7 separate regions of the Homo sapiens genome follow, and regions 2, 3, 4, 5, 6 and 7 are each linked to region 1. The links are contacts of gene promoters, found by promoter capture Hi-C in blood cells and fetal thymus (Javierre and others, 2016). All regions are on one chromosome and are shown on one strand. Each heading gives the region's core, a stretch centred on a gene start or on the middle of the fragment in contact. The rest is flanking DNA. Distances are from core to core; before and after follow the strand shown. Region 1 holds the start of ZCCHC12 (zinc finger CCHC-type containing 12). Region 2 holds the start of WDR44 (WD repeat domain 44). Region 3 has its middle 25 kb from the start of PGRMC1. Region 4 overlaps WDR44 (WD repeat domain 44). Region 5 overlaps PGRMC1 (progesterone receptor membrane component 1). Region 6 has its middle 43 kb from the start of DOCK11. Region 7 has its middle 49 kb from the start of KIAA1210.

Region 1 (3,673 bases), core at 1,174-3,673:
TCTGAAGAAAACCCCTAAGCTATTGCCAGCATCACCCCCGACTGTGTGAAGTAAGCAACCTGCCTTCTCTGCACCTCCAAAATCCTCCACCCACCACCACCACCATTCCAGTGTTCCATCCACAAGAGAAAGGTCATGCCCCTGAGATGAAGGTGCTTTGTCTTTAAATGTAGATTGTTTACTCCAAGGAATTCTAGGTATTGGAGTTGGAAATAAGAAGGCAGAAAGAAGCAGGTAAAGTACCTTGGCAGGCTGAAGCTGAAATTAACAGCAGCTGAAAAGCATCAGACTGTTCACTCACTTCCAAACATCAGGAGTCAAGAACAAGCAACTCCTTTGCACTTGGGCAGTCCAAGTGCACTTGGTCTTGACCCCCCAAAGTTCCCACAGGAGTCTCTTAACCACACTTTACATGAGAGAAGGAAGGCTTGCTTTCCCAGAACCAGAAGTAAGGGAAAATGGAGTGCTGCAGGCTGAATTATGTTCCCCCAAATTCATTGTAATCCTAACCCTCAGTACCTTAGAGTGTGACTGTATTTAAAGATAGGGCCTTTAAAGAGGTTATTAAGGTAAAAATGAGGCCCTTAGGGTGGGCCCCAATCTGACTTGTGTCCTTATAAGAAGAGGAAATTTGGACACACTGAGAGAACCCAGAGGCACATATGCACAGAGAGGATGGCCAAGCAAGAGGGCAGCCATGTGCAAGCCAAGGAGAGAAGCCTCAGGAGAAACCAACCTTGCTGGCACCTTGAAGTTGGACTTCCCAACCTTCAGAACTATGAGCAATACATTTCTGTTGTTTATAAACCACCCAGTCTATGGTATTTTGCCATAGCACCCCAAACAGACTAAAACAGCACTGTAACAAATTATCACAAACTTGGCTTAAAACAAGAGAAGTTTAATTTCTCACAGTTCTAGAAGCCAGAAGCTTAACATCTGTTTCTCTGGGCTGAATTCAAGGTGTCAGTAGGACTGTGCTTTATTCCTTGCCTCTTCCAGTTTCTGGTGGCTGCTAGCATTCCTCTGCTTATGGCCACATCACTAATCTCTGGTCATTGCCTTCTCTTCTTGGTGCACCAACTCTCCCTCTTTTATAAGGGCACTTGTGGTTTAGATTTCAGCCTGCCTGGAAAATTAAGTCAAAAAGCCTTAACTTAATCACACCTGCAAAGACCATTTTACTTTATAAGGTAACATTTACAGGTTTCAGGGATTAGGACTTGATACATTTGGGTGGCCATTATTTAGCTTCATACAGAGTCCGAAATCTTTGCATACAATTTCAGGAAGATCATGGATTCCAGGTAGGCACATCTGCTCTGGAGTTGCATTTCACCACAGATACCTGTGGACAGATATTGGAGACAGGCTCATTTACTTATTCACAAACCTTGCTACAACTCAGAACCAACCGCAGCGCCGGTTAAAAATACTAAATACAAAACCACATCACAACCGCTAGTCCTAGTAAATCTGAATCCACCAGAGTTGGGGCCCAGAGCCTACATTTCTTTTCTTTTCCTTTTTTTTTTTTTTTTTTTTTTTTTTTTTTTTTTTTTGAGAGGGAGTCTTGTTCCCTTGCCAGGCTGAAGTGCAGCGGTGCGATCTTGGTTCACTGCAACCTCCGCCTCCCAGGTTGGAGAGATTCTCTAGCCTCAGCCTCCCAAGTAGCTGGGATTACAGGCACGCGCCATCATGCCCAGCTGATTTTTTTTTTTTTTTTTGTCTTTTTAGTAGAGACGGGGTTTCAACATGTTGGCCAGGATGGTCTCGATCTCTTGACCTCGTGAGCCGCCCGCCTCGGCCTCCCAAAGTGCTGGGATTTCAGGCGTGAGCCACCATTCCCGGCCAGAAGACTGCATTTCTAACAAGCTCCCCCAAATGACTCTGATGTCTTGCCCCCATACTTGAATGGGTATTGGTTGAGAGCCTTGTTCTCCAGCTCTCCTCTCTGTTAAATGGACATACTGCTACTTCTTTCACAGTAAAAGAGGAGATGTGTGTGAAAGCCTGTTTCCGCAATGCACGTGCTAATGCTCTTCCCGCCCCTTCCCCTCTTCCCCGTCTTTTCCCTATACCAAGGTGAAGAACTTTTATTATTCACTTGATTTTGGACCCACTTCGTGTTTAATGCACCTGGCCTAAGATGCAGAGTTGAGCCCAGGGAGAAGGGACGGGTTGGGGGAGGAAGAAAGAGTCGCAAATTCCCAGGCAGATTGGCTCCATCGGTCTAATCAAGCTGCACTTGACGCTCCGCGGGCCTGCTGCGCCCCCGCCCCCTCAGGCGAAAACTCGCCTCTGCCCAAGGCTGTGCGGGGCGTCCGCCCCCGCACTTCGCTGATTGGCCGCACTAGCCCGCTCGTCACGCTCTTTTGTCTCAGCTGGCAGAGGATAAAAGCCGCCGCGGCTGCCTTAGGAACGGCGCTGCCTCGTCTCTGCTACCCCTGGTTGGGCGGCCCTGCGAAGCAGCTCCTTCGGGCAGCCCCGGGTCGCTTAGCGGCCAAGGAGGCTTCAGTTCTTTGCCGCCTGCAAGGCGGAGACCAGAAGGCGGAATCCACAGCTGGCGACGCGGGAGCATCTGCTGTCCACCAGCGGAGCACAGGTAAAGAATGGGGGTGTGATTGCCCGGCGGGGAGAGGGGTGGGGGAAGACCCACCAGTACTGGGCGGCTCCCAGCTTGGAGAATCGGTGACTGTGAGGCAGGGGTAGGAGTACTCTCGTGGCCCGGCTGCGCTGAGGGAGGAGGTGGGGTTCACCTGGATACTGCGGGCTAGGTAGGATTTGCCTGGATTTGGGGGTGGGAGGAGAGGCGAGGAGTAGCGGGGGGAGGAATCTCGAGCTGTTTGCTTCGAACATCCTTTGCATCTCCTCATCTCTTTCTGGGAGGAATATGTGGGTGGGTGTGTCCAACTCCTATTCCCTTTCTCCGTGGCAGGCCATCAAAGCCGCATCTGAACTTGAATTCTGTGCAGCTGATTGCAGAGCTGGTAGGCCGACGGCTTCCCGGGGGAAATGTAATGCTGGAGGGTGGGGGGCTGGTCTCTGGCTTATAGTCAGGAGGGGGCAGAGAGAATTTTTCGCCTGGCAACAGCGGAGGTGGTGGGTAGCAGGATGACGGGTGAAGCTGCTTCTAACCCTTCCCTTCTCTGGCCTTCTCCGCTGTGGCGCAATCTTGAAACCTCAAGGACCCGGATCTGCGACCCCCTGTGGACAGAGGTTGACCGTACCCCGGAGAGGAGCTTTCTCACGGAGGGCACTGGTTGCAGAGGCTGGAAGTGAAATAAAGACGCGCTCTTGTTTCAGAGTTCGTGTAAGAATCTGAGAAATAACAAGGGGGACGGGCGTGGGGGGCACTTTGAGAAGGGGGTGTGGTTGAGACCAGAGACCATGAGGTTAATGAGATCTTATTTTATTTCCACAAATCTGCGATCATTGTACTCTATTTGGAGAGCCCAATATCAGCTCCAGACACTGCTACACCTAGAATTTGAAGCAACAGTTACCGTCCCTCTTGGAGGACTGGTGGGAGGGATGGATGTGGCTGCAAAAAGCACCTTGCTAGCACGCAGGCATCGGGTAGCTCTGGGAGGTTGTAAGTGTCAATCTCCTACAGGATTATTTTTAGGGTAGTGGGCAAATATAAAATGTACTGCAGGATATTCAGGTAGGA
Region 2 (3,673 bases), core at 867-3,366, 480 kb before region 1:
TGTCTTTTTAATCTGTCAATTGTCCTCAGCATCTAGAACGCTTCATGACACCAAATTGTATATGTTTACTGAACTGAGCGACTGGTTTCCACACACGGCATTTTGTTTTTGTTGTTGCTGTTGTTTTTTGTGTGTGTGTGTGAGAGACAGGGTGTGGCTCTGCTGCCCAGTCTGGAGTGTAGTGGTGCTATCTCAGCTCACTGTAGCCTCAACCTCCTGGGCTCAAGCGATTCTCCCACCTCAGCCTCCACAGTAGTTGAGACCATAGGCACATGCCACCACACCCAGTTAAATTTTGAATTTTTTGTAGAGACAGGGTTTCACCATGTTGCCCAGGCTGGTCTGAAACTCTTGAGCTCAAGAAATCCGCCTGCCTCGGCCTCCCAAAGTGCAGGGATTACGGGCGTGAGCCACCGCGCCTGGAACTAACACCTCTATCATATAGAGAAAACTAACTTTTTTTTCTTTGGAAGCCATAAATTCACTATTAGATATCTAGGAAGAGAATACATTCAGGTAGTTAACATCTTTCCATAAATATATATTTCCCTACCTTATATCTGGTATCTTTCCATAATCCAAAAAGAAAACAAAAAAACCTATCTTAGTGAGCAAAACGTTTTTAAAAGTTAGTACTTTGAGTTACATTTTTATACCTAGGAAGTTAATTAACATGTTTAAGACACATAAAACCTAATAATTTTTAGGTTTGACAAAAGTCATACCCTCACAAGGATCCACAAATCCCTTGTCTCCAATTCTGAAACTTCAAAAGCTCTGGAAACCAAGTTTCTGTTTTTTTTTTTTTTTAGTAATTTATTTGACAGTCAAATAGATCTATCTTAAACTTATTTGGCAGAAGCGTCTGACTCAAACTGAATGAGGCTATTTACTTGTATTTATTTATCCCGTATGAACAATCATATATCTTGCTGCAAAAATATTAATATATTTGATTACGCAGTGTTTTCCCTAAACTCCCTGGGGTATTATAGAATATACAGTATATGACATTTGGTTTTTACCCAAGTCCACTAGACCACAGCAGACCTTGCCCTGATTGCTTGACAAAGTCTAGAGCCCCTTTCCAGTTTCTCTGAGACCATACCCCTGGCTCCAATCCAGCCTTTTCTTGAATACTAATTGAGGCTGCACGAACAGCTCAAAATGCCTATCATGATGTCAGTTGGAGAAATAAATATGCTGTGTGATCATACTGAAAGTCAATGTTATCACCTTGATGGTCAATGACCCGTGGTTTAAGAAGGAACATCTCGGTTTTTTAAAAAGTACCTTTCTATTTTTATCACCGGACGCTGGGCAGTTGAGGATCAGAATTAAGCCATTAGCTCGTAGGCTTGCAATGATATCTGCTCAATAAATATTTACCATTTAGCTGACGCACATCTTGGGCAGTATGTAAGAACTTCTCTCACACTGTGTTGGCAGCGACAGACATGTGCGGAGAAAAAGTAACCGGAGGCCTAATACTGGCTCAGCTCCAGCAATAAATCCATCATTACACCATGGAACTGGCACACTCCCCGTGTATATCTCAAGGACCCCACCCTCTGGCCGGCAGGATCATATCTAGGGATCTCAATTAGAGATCTCGTAGTGAATAAGGGCGAGTTATTCTCGTAACGCCAGAGGTGGTGGACCTGCCGACGCCCTAGGGTGGGACATTCCGGGCTTGGATAGTAAGACATCGTAAATATACGCCAAAATGTCCACACCAACGTTTCCCGAGAGTATTTCTTTACAAGTAAAAGACCGACTCAAAATCACCCCTCTCAAAACGCGTCTCTTTGGAACTGCAGAGTTAGGGAGTAAGACTTTCTGCCTGACCCCACCTACGTCGGCCGCGCGCTCTCAGAGCCAGGGCACCACGCTGCTCCTGCGCAGGTCCTAGACTCCTCCCTTCGGGAGGCTCACCCCCTCCCTTCTCGGCTACTTCCGGCCCTCACCGAACGCCCTCAACGCGCTTGCGCCGTTTTGATAGGCTTCTCGGGCCGAAGTAATCGGAGCGCTGCCTCTCTGGAACCGCCCCCGCCACCTCTTCGCCCCGCCCACGTATTACCGCCCCTCCGAAATCTCGCGAGGGTAGGTGCGCGTCGGTATTTTGCGGGCAACTAGCTCTTCCAGCTGCTGTAAATTGCTGCTGCGGGAGAAACTGGAGCCGCTGTAGCCGGCGCGCCCTTCTTCCCTTACTGCGAGGAGCCACCGCCTCTTTCGCGCTCCTTATACACCTATCACTGGGAGCGGTGGCAGCAACATTCCCTGGACCAACCGCCGCCTCTTCAGGCGGCCGCTTTGCCGGTCATTCCCGAAGCCCGGCAACTGAGGGCGGCCCCCTTTCCTTAACAGTCTCCTCGCTACAGATCGTCTGCTCCCTCAGCCTCGCCCGAGACCCACTTCCCCAGTCTCGCCCGGGTGGAGGTCGACGAGGAGGAGACAAGAGTCACCCTTCCTCCAGGCGGCGCCGGCCCCCTCACCCGCGGGTGTGTCCTATAAATGGCGTCGGAAAGCGACACCGAGGAATTCTATGATGCCCCTGAAGATGTGCACCTAGGGGGCGGCTACCCCGTGGGGTAAGTGACTGCAGCTATGACAGGAAGCCGGGCATCCCAAGCCCCCCGCATCTCCTGTGTCTTCCCCCTACACCCCTCCCAGGTCCCGCTGTGTCCGCCACCGCTGTTCCTCCCCGTCTCACTGGAGGACTTCAGAACCCAGACCTGGGGCTTCTTAGGGCGGGGTGACTCGGAGAAGGGGGAGTCAGCCACCTCGGGCAGCCTCCCGGCCGTTTCCCTACTGAACGGTCCCAGGGTCGGTCTCGGAGCCCGTTTCTCTTCTGATCCAGCCTTCTGTGAGGGGGAACAGCTTACGTGCCTGAGTCGGAGATTTGTATCTGTGGGGTTCTGAGCTTACCTTTCAAACATCCGTTTTGGCCTCGGGGACCGTAGATTAAAGGAGCAGTAACAGGAGAAATGTAACTTGTAGTTTTTTATTCTCCCGTTTACCGCTAACTTACCTATTCACTTCAGAGGTGGCTGTAACTCTCCCCTATTTGCCGTCCTCTTTTTCTTGCACACAGCGAAAAGGAGCGGGGGGAAGGTTGGGTATTTGCTTAAGAAAGTCCTCTAGCGAATGTACTCTAGATCAACAGTGTTTTATTAAAATAACACCTTATCGTGAGGTAAAGGAAATCGAATACACGGTCCCTATTAGGCAGAATGCGGTCTAAAAGGATGGCCAGACAGAAGAAATGTGCACAACTGACTGCAGAGGGACAAACAAGTGCTGAGTAATCTGGTGATTGGAAGGAGAGCCCCAGCTTTGTGTTCTTTATCTAATTCTGCAAGATGTTTTAGTGGTGATTAATATGGGTGATTCTGAATAGGAAGTACAGTAGTTGGAATGCTCGCTTGACTAGGACTTGTATTTACTTACCCACTTCTCCACTTTTCAAAGTTGGGGTAGTGCTTTAAAGCGATTTCGCCGAACTCCCCTACGAATGTACGTGGAAATAGAGGCAGTGAAATATATTTTCATGCTGTAAGAACTTGAGGATTGGTAAAATGTAGATGTTAGTATAAAGGACTAATATGGTTCGAGAAGTTCACTGCCTTCAATTCTCACACTTACTCCGTGGGAGTAATAACCCGCTGTGATG
Region 3 (3,673 bases), core at 449-2,948, 440 kb after region 1:
AGTCTCGCTCTGTCGCCTAGGCTGGAGTGCAGTGGCGTGATCTTAGCTCACTGCAACCTCCGCCTCCCAGGTTCCAGTGATTCTCCTGCCTCAGCCTCCTGAGTAGCTTGGATTACAGGTGTGCACCACCACGGCCGGCTAATTTTGTGTTTTTAGTAGAGACAGGGTTTCACCATGTTGGCCAGGCTGGTCTCAAACTCCTGACCTCAGGTGATCTACCCACCTCAGCCTCCCAAAGTGCTGGGATTACAGGCGTGAGCCACCACGCCAGGTCCCTTATGCTCAATTTTCTTGTGAACCTAAAACTTCTCTAAAAAATAAAGCCTATTAAAAATAATAATATCTGTTCTATAAGGGAATAATAATAATAATATGTAATATTTACTTAATAATATTTAATGTTTTTTAGAGTTTTCAAAGAGTATATACTGTGTCTCAGTTTCCTTAACCATAAAATAGAGATAATAAGATTTGGGGGAGAATTAAATGAGTGTGTACAGGTGAAATCCTTAGAATGTGCCTGGCACACAGGAAGTTCTCAATAAACATAAGTTATAATATTATCTATTAGTGGTAGTAGTCTTACTTTATCTCATTTGATTTATGAAGCAACCCGTGAGTAGGTATTTGCCTGCCTGTTTTACAGATGGGGAAATTCAGACAGTTTCAGGAAAATTAAATGACTTGCCCATACATTGAGAAGCCAAGATTTTCTAAATCTCTAATCTATTGTACAATTGATCTTAAATGTAAAGTTCCATTAAAAATCTGCTGGGGATGGTACACAAACAGGGCAAGGGTGGCACATTAATGAACATGCACCGAACATACATAGAACTTATAGTTCTAACCCATGCACCTGACTTAGCATCCCTTGTCCACGTTGGTTTCCAAGTCTAAAATGGACATATCTACTCTTGTTCCTCCAGTCTGTTGACTTTAACTAAATTGATCTCTAAGTTAAAGTTAAGAAGAGACAGCCTTTTCTAATGAGTGACAAAGTGAATTTGCCCTCTACTTGGGGACTGGAAAAACCCCAAAACATGAGTGCTTCCTGTTTACTTCATATTAACAAACTCTTTGAAGCAGTACTAAGGTGAACAAGATCACTAATGCTGGGAATTAGAGATTTAAGCTTCTATTTGCTTACTTTAAATAGCACTTCCTAATAAAGGAGTTTTTTTCTGAGCAGATATATTCAGACTCTATGTCACCAGAATTTCTCATTAACGTCAACTTTAGGGAAATTTAGAGCCAAACATATATGGCCAGATGACAGAAATTCTAACACAAAATTTACTGCGAAATCTTGGCTAACTTTATAGGTACAGAATTATTTAATAACTACCCTTAAAGGACAATCCAAGTTAACTTCCTTTAGAAGGCAAGGTTTGTAGAGACTGATTTTATAAAAGGTCATCAAAAGCAGTATCTAAGATACTATGTTCTAGAAACCCTTATGACAGCAACACTGAAATGGGATGATATGAGAAGAAACATGTTTTCTTTCTCCAAAAGCATTATCTATGTAGCAAAATGGAAAAAATCCAGTTAGTTTGCTGCAATTTGCAATAAGAGTCAACACTAAGCCCCCTCTAGGAGAAAAATTAATGTGATATTCAATTAAGATATACTGAACTCTAAAATTTATTTATAACCATTAGGTATTTATTTATACAACCTAATATAAAGCAATAGTTTTTTTAAAAAAATTCCAGAAAATATTCACCCAAAACAGAATTACTCTCTTCAAAGTAATCAGGTTTGTCAAGCTCTCCACTTGCTCCAGCAATACTGCCTTTGTTTAAAACACTGTAGAATGCTTCTCTTGGATTGATTTCAAAGCCTGGGTTACATTATTTTAAGTAGCTTCATGGAGGCCAATTTCTAAATTCCTTTATCATGGATTTGATATTTAGAAATTATCACAAATTATGTATAATCAAGAATGTTGGATAAAATGGATGACTATAAGAACAAACTGATTTTCCCAAGAAGACCCAATTGTTTTTGAAAAAAAAAAAAACAAAAAACTGACCTCCTTTAAAATCCTCACAACTTAAATTCCTGTTTCCCAAGGACAAAAATGACAAGAAACTGAGGCATTTGTTCTTCTCATATCTTTCATAGTGGTTCACAGGCTTTAGATCTTAAAATTGAATGTCAATAAATATTTCATCTTAAATTACTCTCCCAAAATAGAGGGCTAATTCTCTAATCTTACTTTTAAAAAATATTGAGGACCTAGTATGACCAAGAAGTAAGCTTTTTATATACGGCATGGCTTCATTGCTATAGAAGTGTCATTGGCAACTTCTTCTAAGTCATTAAAAATTAACTAGCATAGTGACTGGTACATAGGTGCACAACAACCAACTCCCATTGTGATGCTTCTTCCTTAAGGAGACCTCAAGTCAAAAGCTAATAAAATATATAGGAGAAGAAGGAGGAGGAAGAGGAGGAGGAGAAGGAAGGGAACAGAGGGAGGGAGTAATTTTATTTTTGGATATTTAGTGAGTACAAGTGCAGATTTCTTACATGCATATATTGTGCAGTGGTGAAATCTGGGCTTTTAGTGCACCCATCACCTGAATAGTGCACATTGTACCCAAAGGGTAATTTTTCAATCCTCACCTCCCTCCCACCCTTCCACCTTTTGGAGGTAGGGAGGGAGGTAGGGAGCCAGACAGTGGATCTGTATTTACTGACAAAAAAGGATGCCTGTGATAGTTTTTAGGGAAAAAATAAAAAGCAAGTGACAGAATAATAAAGTAACATATGATATTGCTCTTATAAAAGTAATATAAACACACATGGCCATGCACACAGACATAATATATAATGTCTGGAAGAATATACATCAAATTGTTAACAATATTTCCCCTAGAAAATGGATTGGGACTATAGGAGAAGAATAAACTTTCCCTTTTTATTAAATACTTTGTACATTTCCTTTTTAAAAATTTATTTTTATATATTTAGAGAGTACAAGTGCAATTTCTTACATGCATGTATTGTGCAGTGGTGAAATCTGGGCTTTTAGTGCACCCATCACCTGAATAGTGTACATTGTACCCAGTGGGTAATTTTTCAATCCTCACCTCCCTCCCACCCTCCCAGCTTTTGGAGTCTCCAATCTATTATTTTACTCTATATGCCCATGTTGTACATTTCTTAATGCTTCAGTTTTTTAATGTTTACAATAAGAATGTATTAATTTTGTACTTTGTTTAACTAAAAAGAGGAACTTCAGATGATAATAACAAGCTACTAAAAGGAAGCAATTTATAACCGCTGACACCAACTTGTCCAGAAAAGGGTAAAAAAAACAGATTAATACAATAGCAACTCCCTTCACCCACCAAAAGCACCCCTCTGTCTGCCATCTCTGTAAATGCCTATAGGCATTTGAACCCATAGTCAAAGTTTGTGTGAGTCACGATGGAAGCCTGGGAGATCAGAACAGGACTTTGAATATCACAGGCTCACTTGGCAATTGCAATACTAGCTACACAATGGGCTGCAGAACCTATCTTTTAGAACTGCTTTATTGAGGCAAAATTAATATATAATAAACTACAGATTTCATAACATAAACTACACATGTATCAAAACTGTATGTTTTGATAAATTTTGACATATGTATACACACCTATGAAACTATCACTGCAAT
Region 4 (3,673 bases), core at 788-3,287, 420 kb before region 1:
TGTTATTTTTCTACCAGTAGGTAGGTACGAAAAGTGTTAGTAGAAGAACATGATTGTCCTTGAAGTTGTCTTTTCCCTTTCTCTTTATCTCTGCAATCCTATTTGTCTTTCTAAACCCAACTATAATGAGATTCCTCCTGACTACTACAGTCCATGGCAATTTTCTTTCTTTTCTCAATTTTGGGAATACCTGTAGTCTATAACTTACTTTTTCCCTTTACAATATGTTATCTTAAACTGTTTTCAGACAAATACACATTAAACAATCAAAGCGTATGTTGCAAAAGGATTCTGATTATGCCATCCTTTGTTTCCCCTACAAACTTCTAGATCAATGGTGGGCCTGTACATTTTGTTTGATTATACACAAGTCACTAAATTGATAATAATTAACTCTAAGGTCCAAAGTGAATTATCCACTTGAGTCCTTTTCCTAGTGTGTATCAAAGAAAGCATTGAGAATTTTTAGGAAAGATGTACCTAAAATGCAGGCATATGATAGCACCTTAGATATTTGGAACTTGGCCATCTAGTAGTTGCAGTTATTGGGAACCTGAGAATAAGGAATTACTACAATTATTCTGGGACAGATAAACATCCAGAAGAGATGTCACATAGTCCATGCACTAAAGCTCATTATTTTTCTAAGAGAAAAGTTCCTCAGGTTTATTCAAAGCCATTATGCTTATTTCTTACATCATTTTTTTTAAAACTCTGTTCAGTGTCTGAGCTTACTGCAAAATAGAAGCAGCAAACTGTGACAACATGTAAGTTGACACATAAGAATGTCAGGTAATCAGAAAAATGATAAAATAACTCATAATATAGGTGGGTGCAGTGGCTCACACCTGTAATCCTAGCATTTTGGGAGACCAAAGTAGGAGGATCACTTGAGCCCAGGAGTTTGAGAGCAGCCTGAGCAACACAGGTAGACTCACTCTTTACCAAAAAATTTTAAAAATTAGCCAGGCATGGTGGCACACACATGTGGTCTCAGCTACTCAGGAGGCTGACATGGGAGAATTGCTTGAGCCTGAGGGATCGAGGCTGCAGTGAGCCGTGATCACACCACTGCACTTCGGCCTGGGTGACAGAGCAAGACCTTGTCCCCCACACCCCCCACCAAAAAAAAAAAACTCATAGCACAATCATTGTACCACAGTGCTTTTCAACCTTTTCTTATGCCATTGACACACAGAGAACATAATAGTATTTGCACTGAATGTTGGGGTAAGCTGGCCATCAGCTGATGGCCAGAGAAGATTGGCCCAGGCTTCCCTGGGCCCTGCCCTGTTGCCTTGAAGGCTGAGTGGGGAACCAATAGTATGGCCCACCTGCAATGCATTAGAAAGGCTCTGAATGTATTAAAGAACCAAAATGATGGTAACGATCTTATCCATCAAGGAATGAAATTTAGGGAACATTAAGTGCCATTTAAGAAGGCATAAAAGTAGATACTTTAGAACTATTACCATCTGAAATAATTAAAATGTCTGTTTTCTTGGCTTTTAAAGTGGTAGTAAACTTATAATTATCCAGAAAATACAGCTTCAGAGTTATAGGTAGCAGAGACCTTATAATGGCTTTAAAAATGGTTTATCATCTGTGTTTTCTGGTTATCAAAAGAAATACAGAAATATGTAAAATAGAAAATGAAAGTTTCTCATAATCTCAGCCCCAGAAATCAGTTTTGTTTTTTTTTTTATTATACTTTAAGTTTTAGGGTACATGTGCACATTGTGCAGGTTAGTTACACATGTATACATGTGCCATGCTGGTGCGCTGCACCCACTAACTCGTCATCTAGCATTAGGTATATCTCCCAATGCTATCCCTCCCCACTCCCCCCACCCCACCACAGTCCCCAGAGTGTGATATTCCCCTTCCTGAGTCCATGTGATCTCATTGTTCAATTCCCACCTATGAGTGAGAATATGTGGTGTTTGGTTTTTTGTTCTTGCGATAGTTTACTGAGAATGATGATTTCCAATTTCATCCATGTCCCTACAAAGGACATGAACTCATCATTTTGTATGGCTGCATAGTATTCCATGGTGTATATGTGCCACATTTTCTTAATCCAGTCTATCATTGTTGGACATTTGGGTTGGTTCCAAGTCTTTGCTATTGTGAATAATGCCGCAATAAACATACGTGTGCATGTGTCTTTATAGCAGCATGATTTATAGTCCTTTGGGTATATACCCAGTAATGGGATGGCTGGGTCAAATGGTATTTCTAGTTCTAGATCCCTGAGGAATCGCCACACTGACTTCCACAATGGTTGAACTAGTTTACAGTCCCACCAACAGTGTAAAAGTGTTCCTATTTCTCCACATCCTCTCCAGCACCTGTTGTTTCCTGACTTTTTAATGATTGCCATTCTAACTGGTGTGAGATGATATCTCATAGTGGTTTTGATTTGCATTTCTCTGATGGCTAGTGATGATGAGCATTTTTTCATGTGTTTTTTGGCTGCATAAATGTCTTCTTTTGAGAAGTGTCTGTTCATGTCCTTCGCCCACTTTTTGATGGGGTTGTTTGTTTTTTTCTTGTAAATTTGTTTGAGTCCATTGTAGATTCTGGATATTAGCCCTTTGTCAGATGAGTAGGTTGCGAAAATTTTCTCCCATTTTGTAGGTTGCCTGTTCACTCTGATGGTAGTTTCTTTTGCTGTGCAGAAGCTCTTTAGTTTAATTAGATCCCATTTGTCAATTTTGTCTTTTGTTGCCATTGCTTTTGGTGTTTTAGACATGAAGTCCTTGCCCATGCCTATGTCCTGAATGGTAATGCCTAGGTTTTCTTCTAGGGTTTTTATGGTTTTAGGTCTAACGTTTAAATCTTTAATCCATCTTGAATTGATTTTTGTATAAGATGTAAGGAAGGGATCCAGTTTCAGCTTTCTACATATGGCTAGCCAATCCAGAAATCAGTTTTAATAGCATGGTGTATTCGCCATAGAATTTTTTTTTCTCGTAAAAGCGGGGCTACTCTATGTCTATAGTTTGTCAACTTGCTGTTTTTTGTTTTTTTTGTTTTTTTGGTTTTTTTTTAGAAAATCAAATATATCATAGACATCTCTTTATATCAGCACTAATAATATATATATTGTAGTCTTTCTGAGAGCCAGATATGAGAGTTAAGTGCTTGGGATATAACAGTTAAGACATTAAGAGGCCAGGCGTGGTGGCTCATGCCTGTAATCCAGCACTTTGGGAGGCCGAGGCAGGTGGATTACCTGAGGTCAGGAGTTCACGACCAGCCCGGCCAACATGGTGAAAGCCCATCTCTACTAAAAATACAAAAAATTAGCTGGGCATGGTGGTGGGCGCCTGTACTCCTAGCTACTCGGGAGGCTGAAGCAGGAGAATTGCTTGAACCCAGGAGGCAGAGATTGCAGTGAGCTGAGATCATGCCTTTGCACTCCAGCCTGGGCATCAAGAGTGAAACTCTGTCTCAAAAAAAAAAAAAAAAAAAAAAAACATTCAGGATGGGTGCAATGGCTCATGCTTGTAATCCGAGCACTTTGGGAGGCCAAGGCAGGTGGATCACTTGAGTCCAGGAGTTCAAGACCAGCCTGGGCAACATGGCAGGACCCCGTCTCTACAAAAAATACAAAAATTAGCCAGGCATGGTGGTGTGTGCCTGTAATCCCAGCAACTCAGAAGGCAGA
Region 5 (3,673 bases), core at 297-2,796, 420 kb after region 1:
AATGATTAAAGCATTCAGTGGAAGTATATCTATTTTTGTATTTTGCAAAATCATTTGTAACAGTCCACTCTGTCTTTAAAACATAGTGATTACAATATTTAGAAAGTTTTGAGCACTTGCTATAAGTTTTTTAATTAACATCACTAGTGACACTAATAAAATTAACTTCTTAGAATGCATGATGTGTTTGTGTGTCACAAATCCAGAAAGTGAACTGCAGTGCTGTAATACACATGTTAATACTGTTTTTCTTCTATCTGTAGTTAGTACAGGATGAATTTAAATGTGTTTTTCCTGAGAGACAAGGAAGACTTGGGTATTTCCCAAAACAGGTAAAAATCTTAAATGTGCACCAAGAGCAAAGGATCAACTTTTAGTCATGATGTTCTGTAAAGACAACAAATCCCTTTTTTTTTCTCAATTGACTTAACTGCATGATTTCTGTTTTATCTACCTCTAAAGCAAATCTGCAGTGTTCCAAAGACTTTGGTATGGATTAAGCGCTGTCCAGTAACAAAATGAAATCTCAAAACAGAGCTCAGCTGCAAAAAAGCATATTTTCTGTGTTTCTGGACTGCACTGTTGTCCTTGCCCTCACATAGACACTCAGACACCCTCACAAACACAGTAGTCTATAGTTAGGATTAAAATAGGATCTGAACATTCAAAAGAAAGCTTTGGAAAAAAAGAGCTGGCTGGCCTAAAAACCTAAATATATGATGAAGATTGTAGGACTGTCTTCCCAAGCCCCATGTTCATGGTGGGGCAATGGTTATTTGGTTATTTTACTCAATTGGTTACTCTCATTTGAAATGAGGGAGGGACATACAGAATAGGAACAGGTGTTTGCTCTCCTAAGAGCCTTCATGCACACCCCTGAACCACGAGGAAACAGTACAGTCGCTAGTCAAGTGGTTTTTAAAGTAAAGTATATTCATAAGGTAACAGTTATTCTGTTGTTATAAAACTATACCCACTGCAAAAGTAGTAGTCAAGTGTCTAGGTCTTTGATATTGCTCTTTTGGTTAACACTAAGCTTAAGTAGACTATACAGTTGTATGAATTTGTAAAAGTATATGAACACCTAGTGAGATTTCAAACTTGTAATTGTGGTTAAATAGTCATTGTATTTTCTTGTGAACTGTGTTTTATGATTTTACCTCAAATCAGAAAACAAAATGATGTGCTTTGGTCAGTTAATAAAAATGGTTTTACCCACTATAGTGTGGTGACTTATTTAAATTTTTTTAAAAACCTTATTCTAGGGAATCTGATTCAGACATTTTACTTTGGCTTAAAATTCAGTTTCATTTTTGAGTGCAGAGTTTTTGTATTCCAAAAGAAACAAGGGGCAAAATTTCATGGAGACCCCACACCAAAAACCAAATACCAGCTTGTCCTGTTTAAGAAATAGTGAATTGAATTGCTTTTTTTGTGACTTGTCAAAGTTTTGCCTAAATCAGAACTTTCTAAACTGTAAATGGCAGACCTCCACCTTGAAGTCTATAGCAAGGTTCTTAAGAAGTAAGGTTACTGAAGGCATTGTCATTGCCAAGTGCTAAGGAAGGGTTTGGGTTTTTTTGTGTTAATGTATTGTCTGATCAGGAAAGTATCAGGAATCCTTACAGTAGCAAAGTTAATTCACCTCGTGTCAAAAGAAGCATAACAGATTTGCATATGCAGTCAGTTGTATAAACAAAGACAACCTATTAGTGTTTTGTCATTTTAATGTTAACATTGGCAGAGTTTTCTTATAAGAGATATACTTCCTGAACCAAAGAAATTTCCATTTTTCATGTTATCAAACCACATTGCAGGTACTTGTGAGTTTTTTTTAATGTGCTCTTTTTTTTTCCCACTTGGTTTCATTCACCAAATGTTTGAGTGCCTGTTTTGTGCCATGTAACCTGTTATGCCTTATGCTTTGGAGAAGGAGTGGGGGAGAGAAGTTGGGCCCACCTTCGCAGCCTGAAATCTCATGTGCATGTGAAGATTAGGCTACTCATTTTGCAAAGTTAAACAGGCTTGTCTGCTGCCAAGAGGAAAATATCCAGAGCAAGCTTGTCCAACCCATGGCCCACGGGCTGCATGCGGCCCAGGAAAGCTTTGAATGTAGCTCAACACAAATTTGTAAACTTTCTTAAAACATGAGGTTTTTTTTGCAATTTTTTTTTTTTTTTTAGCTCATCAGCTCTCGTTAGTGTTAGTGTATTTTATGTGTGGCCTAAGACAGTTCTTCCAATGTGGCCCAGGGAAGCGAAGAGATTAGGCACCCCTGATTTAGAGCCTCACTAAAGTTTCACTCCCAATAACCTGATTCTCTTCCATTCAGAGCTGAATCAACATTGTGTTGGTTACTTGGAAAGGAATATTGCTGTAAGGCAGGACTTTGATCTAAAAACTTCTCAAATCCAGCTAGCATATACATAAGCCATATTCATGTAAAAGGCACCATTCAAGAAGATGGTGGTGTCGGGGGGAGGGGGGGTAGTTGTTACAACCACCACATGTCCAGTGAAGGAGGGAGGTGTTAGGTTAACATCTGGCTTGCTCCCCACCTGCTGTCATCCTACCAGCTGCAGAGACAGTTTGTTCTCAACTAGCGTCTGTGGTTCATAAGCAGCATTTACTACGTGTTTTCAGTATCTGCATATCTGGCTTCCCTGCATAATGTAACATTCACCTTACTTCAGAGGGCCAAATTTATGCAAATCCTAGATCAAGAACAAGCATCAATACATTTCTTGCTGTTTCAGAAAGAGCTCTTTGAACCTGACGGACGCTTTCAGCTCTAAAGTGCCCAGATTTTACTCCAAGGTAGTCTGCCTTTGTTATGATACTTAGAGGCAGTTTGCTGTATATTTCACATGAAAATACAGTTAACTCTTGAATGGTCAAAGACTGATTATTGAGGCCCCTACCTTCTCTGACTAGACTGTCCATCCCAAACCCATAATTGTTTTTGCACATTGTATAACTTGAACACTTCCACCCAGGGCTGAAGGAATTAGGTGAAATTCCATGGAGTCAATTTTGCTACCTCTTATTAGCACTGATAAAATGTGCTAAAGGGAGGATCATCTTAAATCTAAATAACATTATTTCGGTTTGTCCAAAATGAAAATAAAACTATGGTCTTTAGTCCCATGAACTCTGACAATGTCAGTTTCCACAAAATGGGAAAAGTTGCATAGAAATGATATTAAAATTAGGCATCTATATTTCCACAGAAAATGTTATTGTGGATGTGCAACATGCTAGCCAATACATGTGATAAATGAACAAAGAATATTCACTATGATAATTTTATTTTTAATATATCTGACAAATATGTATTCTCTAACAATGCAAATGAGAAAAGAGATCAGCAACATTAGTGCAAAGCAGCATACTGTAAGTAGGAACTTTCCCCCAAAGGTGGACTTATCAGCATTTATTTAAAAATGACTATTTTAAACAATTTTGCAACAAGTAAAAATAAGTTTATTTGATTCTTATTTTCAAAATTACCAGGTTACATGGCTTTCTACCTGAGAAATTTAAACAAATTGAAAGCACATTGACATATTTTTAGTTTTTTTGCATAACTACCAACAACTCATAAGAAAAACATGAAAATACCTTAAGACAAAGTTTAAAGCTCAGGCCCTTAATAGGACATAGAAAAAGATAT
Region 6 (3,673 bases), core at 721-3,220, 370 kb before region 1:
CTGTAATCCCAGCTACTCAGGAGGCTGAGGCAGGATAATCGCTTGGACCCAGGAGGCGGAGGTTGCGATGAGCCAAGATCGCACCATTGCACTCCAGCCTGGGCAACAAGAGCAAAACTCTGTCTCAAAAAAAAAAAAGCATAATACTGACACTTGTTATTGCTATATGAATACACTGAATTTAAAAGGTAGCATCAAAATATATAGAAAAAAAGAACACTATTTCTCTTTAAAATGAGTTTTAGATATTCTCTATAACGAGTGATATGGTATTATTAAAAAAAAAAAGATCACAGGTTCTAGAGTCAGGTAAACTTGGATTTGCTTCCTTCCCGTTAGCACATTCCTTGGGCAAGTTATTTATCCTACATTACTACTACTTCCTTATCTGTAATATGGGAATACCTAACTTAAATTGCAAAGATTTGCTAAGAAATCATGTATGTGTAAAGCTTGGTGCCTAACCAGTAGGTATACTCAACAGATGTACATTTCTTGCTGCCTCTCGCAAATCCGTGAGTACTCTCTCAGACCAAAAAAAAAAAAAAAGACGATATATGGAAACGCTTTCTTTTTGAGATGGAATTTTGCTCTTGTTGCCCAGGCTGGGGTGTAATGGCACGATCTCGGCTCACCACAACCTCCGCCTCCTGGGTTCAAGCGATTCTCCTGCCTCAGCCTCCCAAGTAGCTGGGATTACAGGTATGCGCCACCATGCCCAGCTAATTTTGTATTTTTAGTAGAGATGGGGTTTCTCCATGTTGGTCAGGCTAGTCTCCAACTCCCGACCTCAGGTGATCCACCCGCCTCGGCCTCCGAAAGTGCTGGGATTACAGGCACGAGCGACCACGTCCAGCCAGAAACGCTTTCTAGACATAGGGATTTCATGGACACACAGCATTTTAGGGATTGACATAGGGCACAGACATTTTTTAACACTTTTTTAACAGACACCATCTACTATCCCCACTTCATAAAAGATAAAACATTTTAATGCTAAAAACATAGGCCAAGCACTATCACATAATCTTAGAGCAACCAATAGTCTATTAAAATGAATACACTTGACTTTTGAAATAAGTAATTATATTCCCTTATTTTTCTTACGATACCATGTTATATTTTTCAATTAAGGAACCAATATTGGTATAATTAACTAAACTCCACGCTTTATTCAGATTTCACTAGTTTTTACCCATATTTGGTCATCATGTGTCCTTAGACCCCTCTTAGCCGTGACAATTTCTCAGACTTTCCATGCTTTTGATGACCCTGATAGTTTTGAGGAGTACTGGTCAAGTATTTTGTTGAATGTACCTCACATTGGGTTTGTCTAATGTTTTTCTCATGATTCAGCTGGGGTTGTGGACTTTAAGGAAGTGAATTGCTCTTTTCATTACATCACATCGAGGGTACGTTCTTATCACCTGGCTGAGGTAGTGTCCATCATATGGGCACAATTTAAGCAATCCATCAAACATTCAGGTTGTGCCTGTTTTTTATCACTGTGAATAACAATCAGAGATAGAGAAATATATATCTTGTCAGAATTTCCAATTATTGATCGAAGGTGGTAGGTCCTTAAAATGAAAGTACAAAGCATGAACTCTTAACAGTAAGCACCAGCCTGGGCAACATGGTGAGACTCCGTCTCTACAAAAAAAAAAAAAAAAAAAAAAAAAATCCAGACGTGGTGATGCATGCCTGTGGTCCCAGCGAACAGGGAGACTGAAGCAGGAGAATGGCTTGAGCCCAGGGGGTCGAGGCTGCAGTGAGCCATGTTCACACCACTGTGCTCCATGTGCTCCAGCCTGAGCAACAGAGTGAGACCCTGTCTCAAAAAAAAAAAAAAAAAGAATAAGCGATGTATGAATTACAAGAAATTCCTGCATAGAAATTGGGAACCCCAATTTGTAGTCCTGGTTGTGGTGGCCTTGTGACTTCAGGAAAGATAAGTAGTTCTCTGCAAGTCTATTAAAATGAAGTCCTTGGACTAAGATTTCTAACTCTGATGGTCCATGTGGTCCATGTGCTTGCCGGCAGTCCTTCAGAAACAGTGCAGCTGAGGATTTCCTCACTTTCTCATTCATTTATTCAAATTCCTGCTGACATAACTTGTGATCTTCTGTGGCATCAGAATGGCACAATCAGTGACTGAGTTCTACTCCTAGAACATCTAATTACAAGATCGGTATATTGAGAAGCATTTTCCCTGATTTTTTTTTTCTCAAAATATGTTCATCAACTGGATCAGTATACACTGTCTCCTCTAGGTGGTACCCAACATTTAAAATACTGCAGTGTATATTATTTGGATAAGAAGACCAAAAGCATAATTTAAAATTGCTAGGAGAAAATGCCTTAGATTTTCACCATCCCTACTTGGAGAGGGGGAGGAACATTGCAACAGATGTCAGTGCTTTGCTTCTCTTAGGACCAGAACCAAACAGAAAGGGGACCAAGAAGCAAGAAAGAATTGCGCTATTCTATTGAACCTCTGAGCAGGTTGCAAATATTAAGTTTTTAGTGAACCATGAAACCTAAGTTGTTTACAAAACAAAGTGAAGCAGTGCAAATTAGAACTGAATCTGTTTTCTAAGCCTAGAACATTAGTAAAAACTCAACTATTGGCTGGGCACGGTGGCTTACACCTGTAATCCCAGCACTTTGGGAGGCCGAGGCGGGTGGATCACCTGAGGTCATGAGTTCGAGACCAGCCTGGCCAACATTGGTGAAACCCTGTCTCTACTAAAAATACAAAAATCAACTGGGCATGGTGGCACGCACCTGTAATCCCAGCTTCTCAGGAGGCTGAGGCAGGAGAATTGCTTGAACCCAGGAGGCCTCTGGAGGTTGCAGTGGGCCGAGATGGTGCCACTGCACTCCAGCCTGGGCGACAGAGTGAGACCTCTGTCTCGGGGGGGAAAAAAAACTCAACTATTTTAAGTATGGCCAAAGTGAACTTAAATTGAACCTACCCTTGTTAAGTCAGAGTCCTTAATTAGGACAGTCTTCTCTAGAGTGAGTTTTGCATGAGGCAAAAAAGAAAGGCACACTTGGTCAGAATGAAGCTCTGTGTGTGGCAAGAGCAGGAGTGATGAAGTGGTATGGCAGCGAGAGGTACAGACAACTGGAGAAGCAGCAGCAGCTGGGACGGACACAGGTGGCAATGGGAGTGGAAGGTGGTGGGAAGCCTCAAAATCCACAGGAGATCAAGTTGAAGCAGATACAGAAGAGAATCATTCCACTTTATTGATTATTATGGAGTGATTTCACCCATAGAATACGTGTGAAAGTCAATCACAGGTCCTTGTAAGTAATGTTCAACAAATATTTGATCTGAATTGAGTCTGCTGCAGTGCATACAACAATATGAAAAAGAGTAATTGAAGAGACATTGGAAACTGACTTCCTTGGGTCAGTTTTTGCCTTAACATGGTCATTCACTAATCAGTCGAATAAACCGTTAGATAAACCATTAAGTCAGCCAAGCTTCCATGCACCTTCATTAGGGAAAGGAGTTATTTTAAGCTTATAAGCAATTCTATGAAAGCTTTCACTCTTGTGCACTAACGTCAAGAGCAGGATATTTTGTTTTTCCTTTTTCCAAGTCATCTCCTTTCAACCCCATGGGGACTTCTAAAATTGTGGTCTGCTATGCCTTCCTCAGAAG
Region 7 (3,673 bases), core at 872-3,371, 350 kb after region 1:
AGACCAGTTGCTGTATATGAAGGACTACATGTACAAGGACTACTCTGCTAATAGCACAATAATGATAATCATCATTTACATTCCAAGGTCAGAGCACTTTATGAAGAGACATGAAACTGAGAGTTACCAATACCCTCTCCAGAAGCAAAAAAAAAAAAAAAAAAAATAGCAGAGATCCCATTAACAGGCCTAATTCCCTGCTGTTTAAAGCTTGGAATAAAAAAGATGTTTCCTGAGTGGATTTCAAAGTTCTTAAAGCTAGCAATTTGTGAGGTTTCTTAGCAAGGTCTCATAATAATCAAACAGGTTTTCTATGCAGGAGGATATGGGGGTGGAGGGTGAAGAGTGACATCCCTACCTGTGTGCAAACATTTGCAAAGAGGCTCCCTCCTCTCCCTTCTTGTCCTGAAATGCTGAAGGGACCTTCCCCCCATAAGCTCCCCATACAAAAAAAAAAAAAAACTGTGGTTCTTGCTTGGGAGGTAAATAAACCTATAGCCATCTGCAGAGTTGACTTAACCACATCTCCATTTTTTTATAGCATATGTTCCTCTACCACTGCAACTTCTTTATAAAATGGGGATGACAATGGTCCCTGCCTCAGAGGGTTGATGTGAGGTTTAAATGAGATTTTCCGGGTGAATACCTCAGAATGAGGCCTGGGCACACCACAAACTCTCAATAAATGTTAGTTATTCTTATTCATGTTGTTGTTTTCTTTGGCTCACTGCAGTACAAGCCAAGCCATTCCTTAGATATAGCAGAGTGATAGCCAATAGCATCCATCTGGCCCCTTCCTCTCTAGTGGACTTACATAGGACCAGGCTGCTAAAACTATCCAGGGGGCAGTAGGTAGGGAGGAGGAAGTAGAAGGGAGGTGGAGATAAGAAGACAGTGGAGTCTCCGCTGGGCTTAGAAAGACCTAGAAGTCTGCTCTGTCCGGTCGCACACACTGGTGTAGGTTGCCCATCCTCTTTCTTTTCTTTAATCTGCGTTAGTGATATCTCCATGCCTTCTTTTTTCCCTTTATGACTGTCCTTGATGTGCATTTCCCCAAATTTCATCTGGATGTGTGCTAGGCCAGAAGGAAATGACCACAGAGTGTGATACCTGCCTCTAATCTTCACTCAGGGCTGGCCATCAATTTGCCACTCCCACTAGTGTGATGATGTTACCCCTAATTGAGTGCACTGAATCAGTGCTTCACCATTCAAATGGTAATTGTTCCCTCTCTCAGATTCTCCAAATGGAAGTCCTACTTTAGCACCATGTTAGCAGCAAATGGAGAAGTGGTAGCCATCCTTCCCAAAACCTACTCCTTCTCTATTCCCTTGTTTCAATTAGTTTTGTTTACAATAACTTTGGTTATTTCTTTAAACAATTTTTCTATGCAGAAGGCCATGAAGGCATTTTAACCAGCCCAACCCTCTAAAGGATGCTCTCTGAAGTCCAGCCAGTCTACAACACTGTGAGGGGAGCCCTGTAATCTGCTCTTCAGAATATACCCTGATCCTTATTTTGAAATTCTGTAAGTGGTACTTAATAAGGATGCCAGCTGAGTAGCACCAAACAAATAAGACCAAAAGAAACCTCCACAACTCCTGGTAAATAAGCAACACAGAACATCTGATTTTACCTAAATCGAATCTTGAGTGTCTCTTGGATGAAATTTTTAAAATAAAAAATAAAAGTGAATCCTTATTTAGTGGATATAACAAAAACCATAAGAAGAGAGTAACCAGCATGCTCAGAACAAGTCCAACTACCCCCACAAAACAGACTCCACTGCCATTGGTCACAGTCACATTCCTCTGGGACCCTGGAGACTACATATGCAAAGAGCCACAGGTTTTGGGGGCCTGGTGAGCAAGGGTCAACAGATGACAAATTGTGTGGGGCCCAGAGCCCAAAGAGCCAGTTAATATCTCTCCAACAATGGCCCTTCTGGAGGACACTGGCCCCATTTTTCTCTTGGTCCCATTGTTCTGCCCAGGACCCAGGGTTTCAAGGGCAGGCTCCAGCTGCCTTTGATGACAAGACTAGGTTGTGAGAAACCACAGATGGGAAATGGTGGCATATGCACTCTGGGTCACACTTACAGAGGCCATTAGAGCAGGGACATTCAGCACCCAGCCATCTGGCCACTGCAGGAGGAGAGCAGGACCCTGCCTTTTGAACAACTCTCCAAGGAGCCCCTCTGTCACCAACTTATCACTGTGCAGTCCTGTGATCCTCCGGATCTCTCTTTTTTTTTTTTTTTATACTTTAAGTTTTAGGGTACATGTGCACAACGTGCAGGTTTGTTACATATGTATACATGTGCCATGTTGGTGTGCTGCACCCATTAACTCGTCATTTAACATTAGGTATATCTCCTAATGCTATCCCTCCCCCTTTCCCCCTCCCCCCACCCCACAACAGGCCCCAGTGTGTGATGTTCCCCTTCCTGTGTCCATGTGTTCTCATTGTTCAATTCCCACCACTTTTTTTTTTTTTTTTTTGAGACGGAGTCTCGCTCTGTCGCCCAGCACAACAGGCCCCGGTGTGTGATGTTTCCCTTCCTGTGTCCATGTGTTCTGATTGTTCAATTCCCACCTCTTTTTTTTTTTTTTTTTTTTTTTTGAGATGGAGTCTCGCTCTGTCGCCCAGGCTGGAGTGCAGTGGCACGATCTAGTCTCACTGCAAGCTCCGCCTCCCGGGTTCACGCCATTCTTCTGCCTCAGCCTCCCGAGTAGCTGGGACTACAGGCACCCGCCACCTCGCCCGGCTAATTTTTTGCATTTTTAGTAGAGACGGGGTTTCACCATGTTAGCCAGGATGGTCTCGATCTCCTGACCTCGTGATCCGCCCACCTCGGACTCCCTAAGAACTGGGATTACAGGTGTGAGCCACCGCGCCCGGCCTGAATCTCTTTTTATATCACTGCCTCTCCATCCCCAGCCTGGTGCCAGATGCCAAGGCAATAGCCACGCTTGTGGGGCCAAACCAGGAACCCATGTGTTAACAAAGCAGCTGGTTCTTCCATGCAATCTGGATCCAGCTGTAAATATGGCAGTCATGAGGAAGGGCACAGAGCTGGTGAAGAAATGCAGCAAGTCCACTTTTCCTTAGGCATGTGGAAATCATATGCTTTGCTGAGTGCTGTGACACTTTTTTTTCTTTTGAGACAGGGTATCACTCTGTCACCCAGACTGGAGTGCAGATCTCAGCTCACCACAACCTCCACCTCCCAGGCTCAAGCGATTCTCCTGCCTCAGCCTAACGAGTAGCCTGGGATTACAGGCTTGTGCCACTATCGCCCGGCCAATTTTTTGTATTTTTAGTAGAGATGGGGTTTCACCATGTTAGCCAGGCTGGTCTTAAACTCCTGACCTCAAATAATCCACCCCCCTCAGCCTCCCAAAATGCTGGGATTACAGGAGTGAGCCACCGCACCTAGCCTGCTGTGATGAATTTTTAAAACAATTTTAGATTGGGTTCACTCTGATTGCCAAATCTCTACTGCTAACTGCTGTGCACACAGGGAGATCACACCGGTTTTTGTTATGAATGTAAGTCAGGAATGGATTGAAAAGTCATAGATGTGCTGTAATAAACTCTCAGACTGGAATACAAAAATATTTTAATTCCCTTGGAGCCAGACCTGAACCTCAATGAACTAGAAACTTCTTGA

What was found. Contacts are between HindIII fragments. The CHiCAGO score rates a contact against its expected background, and 5 or more counts as called.
Region 2: a contact is called between the fragment with the promoter of WDR44 here and the fragment with the promoter of ZCCHC12 in region 1, in 3 of 17 cell types (naive B cells, naive CD4 T cells and activated CD4 T cells). The highest score is 5.6, in naive B cells.
Region 3: a fragment that was not itself captured here is called in contact with the fragment with the promoter of ZCCHC12 in region 1 in 3 of 17 cell types (M2 macrophages, activated CD4 T cells and M1 macrophages); the score reaches 7.6 in M2 macrophages.
Region 4: a contact is called between a fragment that was not itself captured here and the fragment with the promoter of ZCCHC12 in region 1, in 1 of 17 cell types (neutrophils). The highest score is 5.3, in neutrophils.
Region 5: a contact is called between a fragment that was not itself captured here and the fragment with the promoter of ZCCHC12 in region 1, in 3 of 17 cell types (activated CD4 T cells, M2 macrophages and M0 macrophages). The highest score is 6.5, in activated CD4 T cells.
Region 6: a fragment that was not itself captured here is called in contact with the fragment with the promoter of ZCCHC12 in region 1 in 1 of 17 cell types (neutrophils); the score reaches 6.1 in neutrophils.
Region 7: a fragment that was not itself captured here is called in contact with the fragment with the promoter of ZCCHC12 in region 1 in 2 of 17 cell types (M1 macrophages and M2 macrophages); the score reaches 5.5 in M1 macrophages.

Annotation. Positions count from the first base shown.
Region 1 is chrX:118,821,401-118,825,073 of GRCh38, forward strand. ZCCHC12 (zinc finger CCHC-type containing 12) reads left to right here and starts at 2,424. Exons shown (of 4, transcript NM_173798.4): 1 at 2,424-2,605; 2 at 2,939-2,990; 3 at 3,189-3,313. The HindIII fragment of the contact is 2,857 bases long and covers 930-3,673 here.
Region 2 is chrX:118,343,990-118,347,662 of GRCh38, forward strand. WDR44 (WD repeat domain 44) reads left to right here and starts at 2,117. Exons shown (of 20, transcript NM_019045.5): 1 at 2,117-2,591. The coding sequence starts at 2,515. RefSeq lists enhancers at 1,348-1,467, 1,658-1,707, 2,249-2,792. The HindIII fragment of the contact is 5,332 bases long and covers 1-3,673 here.
Region 3 is chrX:119,259,737-119,263,409 of GRCh38, forward strand. No RefSeq gene overlaps it. Among named protein-coding and RNA genes, the nearest start is that of PGRMC1, 25 kb to the left of the region's middle. The HindIII fragment of the contact is 1,130 bases long and covers 1,134-2,263 here.
Region 4 is chrX:118,398,978-118,402,650 of GRCh38, forward strand. The region is part of intron 8 of WDR44 (WD repeat domain 44); the gene reads left to right. Among named protein-coding and RNA genes, the nearest start is that of MIR1277, 14 kb to the left of the region's middle. The HindIII fragment of the contact is 5,488 bases long and covers 1-3,673 here.
Region 5 is chrX:119,243,246-119,246,918 of GRCh38, forward strand. It overlaps PGRMC1 (progesterone receptor membrane component 1), which reads left to right. Exons shown (of 3, transcript NM_006667.5): 3 at 1-1,221. The coding sequence ends at 9. It also overlaps the pseudogene AKAP17BP. Among named protein-coding and RNA genes, the nearest start is that of PGRMC1, 8.8 kb to the left of the region's middle. The HindIII fragment of the contact is 1,024 bases long and covers 1,035-2,058 here.
Region 6 is chrX:118,450,833-118,454,505 of GRCh38, forward strand. No RefSeq gene overlaps it. Among named protein-coding and RNA genes, the nearest start is that of DOCK11, 43 kb to the right of the region's middle. The HindIII fragment of the contact is 3,040 bases long and covers 451-3,490 here.
Region 7 is chrX:119,175,418-119,179,090 of GRCh38, forward strand. No RefSeq gene overlaps it. Among named protein-coding and RNA genes, the nearest start is that of KIAA1210, 49 kb to the left of the region's middle. The HindIII fragment of the contact is 3,827 bases long and covers 209-3,673 here.